2 separate regions of the Homo sapiens genome follow, and region 1 is linked to region 2. The links are contacts of gene promoters, found by promoter capture Hi-C in human tissues and cell types (Jung and others, 2019). All regions are on one chromosome and are shown on one strand. Each heading gives the region's core, a stretch centred on a gene start or on the middle of the fragment in contact. The rest is flanking DNA. Distances are from core to core; before and after follow the strand shown.

Region 1 (3,803 bases), core at 1,222-3,721, 35 kb after region 2:
TTCACCAGCTCCAGCGCGATGGCCAGGCGCTTGCGCTGACCACCTGACAGGCTCCCGGTCCGCGTGTTGGCGCAAGACAGCAAGCCCAGCGCTGTCAGTATCTCCTTGACCTGGGGGCAACAGAACGAGAGACATTGGGAGCTGCCCGCCAAAGCTCACCACCTCCCATGGCCCATGCAGGAAGACCTGCCAGCCGCCCTCAGCCTGCTGGACACACCGTGCCTGGCCCACGTGGAGGCCACGCAAGTCGAACCCACTCCAGGCTGCCCAGTGCCAAGTGGGGCAGGTGCCATTTCCACATCAGCCGTCCTGATGAGGGACAGAGACTGCCCAGAGGCTCTGCACTGCCCAGAGGCTGTGCAACAGTGCTGGGGTCAGATACAAGGGCCTGCATCCTCATCAGTCATATGGCCTCTGGCAGGTGCCCAGGGCACGTTCCTCACTGCTAAGCCTAGCCCAGTGCCCCATACGGAGAAGGTGTCCAGTCAATACTTGATGAATGGACACATGAGAGGATGCACAATTTCTGGTGGTTTCTGCCCAGAACGAAGGGGAGGGTCGCTGTGATGGTTACTTGAAAGAGTGGATGCAGAGTGCACAGAGCAGCATGGAGTCCGTGGGGGCTGTTCCCAGCACTCTTGTCATCGCTGAGGTAGGCATTAAGGGCAGGAACACGGTCACACACACCAGGGCTCTCGGGGAGGGGGACAGAGTCACTTTTGTTCTTGTAAATAGGTTTGACTTGAAAGCAAGGTCTCTGAGGTGCCAGGAAGGCAACGAAACAGATCTGCAGTACCCCTCAAAGCAGTCATGACCCACGGTAGCCACACCACGGCACAGGCTCTGGGAAGCAGGCTGCACGCCAGGAACAAGCAGGGCACTGCGCACGGAGCCCTCCCTGTCTGCTCCGGATTATTGATCCTGTATCGACTCAGGGAACACGAAGGTCAGCAGATTTCTGTGCTGGCTTGGTGCTGCTTTCAGCCCCAGCATCATCTCAGAAGCAGGCCCTGGGTCAGCCACTGCCATCCCTGCCTCCCTACCCTGGGGACAGCCCACCTGGAGCTCCCTCCAGCATTCACCCAGCTATTGTCCCCACCCTGCCAGGGCAGCCCTGTGGTGGCCGGCCCCTGGGAGCCATAGCAAGCGGACCCTACTCCAGCGGCTCCTCTAGGGAGATGAAGTCATCTGAAGGGAGGAAGAACTCACGAGGAAGAAAATTTCCACTCTGAGCTTCTGAATTATTTATGCACAGTCGGTACAAAGTGCAGCTTTGGTGACAGAAAGAACCGGGGCACGGCTGCTGGACAGGCCAGGGCAGGTGGCAGTACAGGGTCAGCCGACCTGGGCTCCAGCCCTGTCCTGAACCTCCTTGCTGATGCCCTCACCCCAGCCCTGGTGCCTCTGCTGGATGCCTGGCTCTGAGGGCCGCCAACCCAGAAACAGCTTCTGGAAGGCTGTCTGGAAAAGGCTGGTGGGTGGGGGGCGTGCAAGGTGGGCAGAGCCCTCTTCCCAGCTGGCATCGACTGCTGGTCTTCCCAGGACGAGGCCTCCAGATCTTCTGGAACCACTGGGCGACGCTCTTGGCCGACTGAGTGGCTCTGGTGCTTCCAGGCTCACTGTGGGGGCCCCACACATGCGGCACATCTTCTTCTCTCCCTCCACCCTCACGGAGGGGATGCTGGAAGCGGAGGCCGCTGTGGGTGCCTTTCCCTCCGCACCCCTGCCCATGAGCTGGGCCCACCCCACTTTCTCCAGTGTCCGCTCAGGAGTGATGCCACCCAGAAGGGTTCTGTTTTAAAGACTAGTCAGAAAGAACAAACAATGATCTCAGTTATTTATACATTTTCCCTAAACAAACAAACAAAAAACCTGCAAGGCCACTTGTAGCTCCAGCCCCCCTGGGGCTTCCCGGCGGGCGCTCCAGGGAGGATCTCGGCAGCCCAGGCTGCCCCTGGAGACCTCACTCCTGAGGAAGTGGCCTTGCTGGAGGGCTCTGGAGGGCTGAGGCTGCTTTGCTGGGAATTAAGGAAGGCCGTGAACAACACAGCAAAAATTCCATGATCTTCTAGAACATTCCATCCCATTGTGTTTCCATGAGACAGAGAGAGAACTTTGACCTAGGTGCACATCGGGGGTTGGAGGGAAGTGAGTGAAGGCACAAAGTTGCTGCCCTGTTCTCCTGAAGCAATCCTGATGGTGGGCCCGATGGCGAGGCATGCACCTGTGCCATGGCTGAGGAACAGCTGGGTCTGCTGGTGAGGAGCATGTGCAGGACGCAGCGTGGCCTCCAGGTCCTGTGGGGAGGGCTCTCTGCATTGTTCAATCCAGCCGAAGAGGAATCTGAGGACGGCGCCAGGGGCTCACCCCTCAGGGATGATTCAGCCACATGAGCTGATATTTTTGCCCTTGTAAACCCAGTTGAAAATAGCTGGAGGCTCTCATCCGGGCCGTGTCTTAGGCAGGGCCCAGGCACCACGAGGACACACACCTATGGGTGCCATCTGCCTTCGGGTCCCGTGTAGCTACTCCTGGGAGGCGCCTCCATTCTCCACCAAGATGCCAGCTTGTTCTGGGTCTTCCAGCTCCGGCAGGCCAAGGGCCTGGCTTGCTGTGACTTCAGCACGGAGCCTGCTGAGCAGCACTCACTGTGCGCCCAGCCCATGGGGAGAGCGACTTTCACCAGCTACCCCGGAAAAGGCTGGTGGCTGTCGCCTTATGCTGCAGGGAAGCAATCCCACAGCCCCTCCCATATGGATCACATGGGCTCCATCGAGCTCAGAGACCTTAAAGAAACCATCCAGTTCAGGTTGCACTGCCCCAAAAGGCAGGTGGGGCCTGGCTTCCTGTCCCCACGTTACAGGTGAAGCTCGGCTCGGGGCACAGCAGGCAGTGGCCCAAGGCCATCCGGTGGGTTCCAGGAGGCCAGGATGGAGGGCTCCCCCGTGTGCTCAGCTCTACTTCACCACAGGGCCTCTCCGTGTTAGCAAGTCTCTCCGCCCTCCGCCTCCTGCGTCTGCTCCCCCGGCCTCCGGTGATCCCCGAGACCCTCTCCACCGTTTGCTCTGTCCTTGGGCCTTATTTTGGGTCAGAGAGACAGAATTCCCTCTCTCCAGCGCCTCCCTCTCCAGAGCTCTTGGCTCCTCCTCCACGCCGAGCATCAGTGACCACTTCCACCGTCTCTCCTTGGAGCCCCCACAGCCGCCCCTCAGCTTGCAGGCCAGCATCTGGAGGGGTCTTTGGGACCTCGATGGAGGGCTATCCGAGACAAAGAGATTGGATTGTGCTTCCGACACCCCATGAAAGCAGGGAGGCCGGGGGATGGGAAGGAGGGCCCTGAAAGGCGGATCCAGGGGCACTGCATCCAGGCTTCGGGAGGAGCAGCTTCTTGAGTCTCCGGGTGGAAAAGCCTCTGCTTCATGGGGGCCCTGCACACTCTTGCCGGCCTCTCCTCTTGTCCTGTAGCTGATGGCAAGGAGGGCCCAGGACTGGGGGGTGGCAAAACTGACCTCAGACAGGGAGAGTGAAGGTCGCCCTGGCTCAATCCCAGGGCCCCGTTCTGTTGATTTGGGTTCATCTCCCATGGGAGACTTCGCCGAGACTCAGCTCTGACACCTGCTTTTCTCCATGTTCTTCTGTGTGCCTGGAACTAAGGCTCTCGTTTGTTACGTTCACTGCTGTAACGAAGTCCCCCACACTGGCTGGTTTCCACAACAGAAACTCCCGCCTCAATTCTGGAGGCCAAAGTCTGAGATCGAGGGCAGCAGGGTTGGTTCCTGAGGCCCCTCTCCTGGGCTGGCAGA
Region 2 (3,485 bases), core at 826-3,325:
GGGGTCCTTCCCCAGCAGGTCATGAGGGCCGGAGGGGCAGCAGTCTGTTCCTGGGGTGTTTGCACCCTCCTGGAACTCAGCCCTGCACCACGACCTGGCCTGGCCTCTGGGTACTAGGAGCAGTGGGAAGGCAGGGAGATCTCACCAGATCCCCCAGGGAGATCTCACCAGATCCCCCAGGGATTTCCCCTACAATGACCTTTTTAATAACATGAAAATCCTGCTGTCCATTGATGAACCTGGGTCCGCTGTCTCCCAGAAAAAGTGAGTGCCCCGAAAACAAGGCAGGCAACGCTCTTTCCTTCTTCCTCCTTCGCTGGCCTCAGCGGGAGTGGCACATCAGAGGCCAGGGGCCCTCAAATCCATCCACAAAGGGCGTGCTGAGCGCAAGGGCGGGGCCTGGGAGTCACAGGGCAGGACACATCCTGGTGCTCAGCACGTACGCCATCGAGCTCCCATGGGTCACTCGGGGAAGGGCAGTTTGTGGATGCACCCTTGGAGGCTCAAGGCCGCCCTGCACACACCACCGGGGACCCCAGCTGCAGGCTAAATCCAAGCAGCCAGGCGCTCCCATTTCTCGGGGTGATAAACCAAGTCCACCCTTCAGACAGAGGCTCCTGGAAGGGCCAGTGGGGGTCATCAAAATGCCTCCCTGGAAAAGAAACACGGAGAACACAAAATCTAGGGGCCCGTTTTCCTGGAATGAGATTAGTCTCTTGCCCACTACCAGCCAGTCCACTGCAGGAGGTTGGGGGGTTGGGGGATGCTGCGGATGCCGAGGGCGGAGGCTTAGGGTCCTGGGAGTGGGTTAAATACCAGCTATACCAGGGACACTGGAGTAACCTCTGATAGGCACCGGAAATGTTGAGTCTTAGTTTCTTCCTCTGGAAAATGGATAGAATCATCGCTGTCTCATCTGATATGTTGTTATAAAACAATTCCTGAGATGTAGTCTTTAGTTTTTAAAAGAGCACGCTGGGCAAAGGTGGAGAGTCAGTTCCTGTTTGTGTTAAAAATGTGGCCGAGTGCAGTGGCTCATGCCTGTAATCCTGACACTTTGGGAGGCCAAGGAAGGCAGATCACTTGAGTCCAGGAGTCTGAGACCAGCCTGGCCAACATGGCGACACCTGGTCTCTAAAAAAATACAAAATATTAGCTGGACACATGCCTGTGGCCCAGCTACTTAGGAGGCTGAGGTGGGAGGATCACTTGAGCCCCGCGAGGGCGGGGGTCTCAGTGAGTTGAGATTGTGCCACTGCACTCCAGCCTGGGTAACAGAGCAAGACCCTGTCTCCAAAAAAAAAAAACAAAAAAAAAACAAAAAAAAAACAAAACAAACAAACAAACAAAAACAAACCAAAAAAACGTGCTTAGATCCAGAGAGAAAAATTCTGAAAGGATACCTAAAAAAGTGTTCACAATAGATCAATAGATGCCTCTGGATAGGAAAGGCTCTTTTGTATTATTTGATTTTAAAAATCAATTATGTGTACCATGTTTTTACTAACATATTTTCAATCAATTCATTTCATCCACTTATTAAAATGTAGTTACTAATTTTTAGGGGAGAAAGCAAAAAGGAAAGACAAGGAATCTCTGTGTTTCAGGAGTTGTGAGAGAGCCGCAGGGTCCTGACTCACTCAGAGCTGCCTGTCTCCGAGGCCGATCTGGGATGAAGCAGCCTGGGGCTCTCTTGTCATGGGACCAGGGGTGTTCTGAGGGCTTCTGGCTGGGAGGCTGAGATGGAACGGACACCACACCCTGGTCCTGCCACCCCACATGGCTCCTGCACACTACACCAGGCCAGGCTAGGAGGGCAATTGACACACATCCGCTCCCCAGTAGAGGACCCGGAACCAGAACTGGAATCCGCCCTTACCGCTTGCTGCCAAAACAGTGGGGGCTGAACTGACCTCTCCCCTTTGGGAGAGAAAAACTGTCTGGGAGCTTGACAAAGGCATGCAGGAGAGAACAGGAGCAGCCACAGCCAGGAGGGAGAGCCTTCCCCAAGCAAACAATCCAGAGCAGCTGTGCAAACAACGGTGCATAAATGAGGCCTCCTGGACCATGAAGCGAGTCCTGAGCTGCGTCCCGGAGCCCACGGTGGTCATGGCTGCCAGAGCGCTCTGCATGCTGGGGCTGGTCCTGGCCTTGCTGTCCTCCAGCTCTGCTGAGGAGTACGTGGGCCTGTGTGAGTACTGCCCTGACTGCCCCGGTGGCAGGGTGGGCGTGAAGGGAAGGGATCCAGGATAAGGGGGGATTCTGCATTCATTTAATAATGGCCACCTGTCACATATACACTTTTTCCTGCGCTAGCCCTTTGAAGTGGGTCTTTATTGTCCCCATTTCACAGACAAGGAAACCGAGGCTCAGAGAAAGTTAACAACTTATCCAAGGCAGCCCTGCCCAGTCTGTGTTGAAATCAGGGTTTGAGCCTGAGCCCATCCCCTATGACCCCATAGCCATCTTTGCTGGAGATTTCTAAATTACAATATAGGTCTTTATGCATTGTTCCACATTTACAAAGAAAAAGGAAAGATGCAGGAGAAAAACCCTGACTTCAGAACACTGTCAATACCGGCAGGCACAAGGTTCATTTAGCCATTGCATAGCAACCCTGCCATGGGGTGTGGCTGCTCCATTAACCCAAGTTTGAAGGAATGAGGGCATGGCTTTTATCTGGGTGTCTTCTGAGCAGGGTCAAAGGCAGTGGTTCCCGAACTTGCAGCCCATTAGAATCACCTGGAGAGCTTTAAAAATCCTAATGCTTGGGGCACACCAGTTACATCAGGGCATCTCCAGGCAAGATCCAGGCCTCAGCTGTTTTGTTTTGAGATAGCCTTGCTTTGTCACTCACTGCTGGAGTGCAGTGGCACAATCTCAGCTCACTGCAACCTCCGCCTCCTGGGTTCAAGCAATTCTTGTGCCTCGGCTTCAAGTAGCTGGGATTACAGGCATGCACCACCATGCCCAGCTAATTTTTTGGATTTTTAGTAGAGATGGAGTTTCGCTATGTTGGCCAAGCTGGTCTCAAACTCCTGGCCTCAAGTGATCCTCCTGCCTTGGCCTCCCAAAGTGCTGGAATTACAGGTGTAAGCCACCATGCCCAGCCAACGTCAGTCATTTTTAAAGCTCTGCAGCTGATTCCAGTGTGAGCGAAGTTTGGATGCCAGGAGGATAAGCAATTACGGACTGGGAGCAAGAGAAGGGAATGTAAGACACTGCACGTGATTGCCATTTTCCTAAGGAAATACTCAGTTCGTTAATGAAACGCAGTGAACTTCTGCTGCACATACAGACATAGAGGCTTGCCTGAAACATGAAAATATTGGGGACTGAAGGATGTCCCGGGAGGGTGGGACATGCTCAACAATTCAGGAAGGGGAGATGCAGAAAAAAGTGAAAAGCAGGCAGCATGCGTTGCAATGATCTCTATGGCGTGTGCCTCTCCTGTCACGGTTTTCATTTAAAACAAAGGGGCAAGG

The links. Contacts are between HindIII fragments. The study calls those that stand out against the background at their distance.
Region 1: a fragment that was not itself captured here is called in contact with the fragment with the promoter of TFF3 in region 2 in 1 of the 25 tissues and cell types used here (lymphoblastoid cells).

What each region holds. Positions count from the first base shown.
Region 1 is chr21:42,278,581-42,282,383 of GRCh38, reverse strand. It overlaps ABCG1 (ATP binding cassette subfamily G member 1), which reads right to left. Exons shown (of 15, transcript NM_016818.3): 6 at 1-110. Among named protein-coding and RNA genes, the nearest start is that of TFF3, 35 kb to the left of the region's middle. The HindIII fragment of the contact is 7,808 bases long and covers 1-3,803 here.
Region 2 is chr21:42,313,999-42,317,483 of GRCh38, reverse strand. TFF3 (trefoil factor 3) reads left to right here and starts at 2,075. Exons shown (of 3, transcript NM_003226.4): 1 at 2,075-2,191. The coding sequence starts at 2,110. RefSeq lists enhancers at 1-355, 356-975. The HindIII fragment of the contact is 18,141 bases long and covers 1-3,485 here.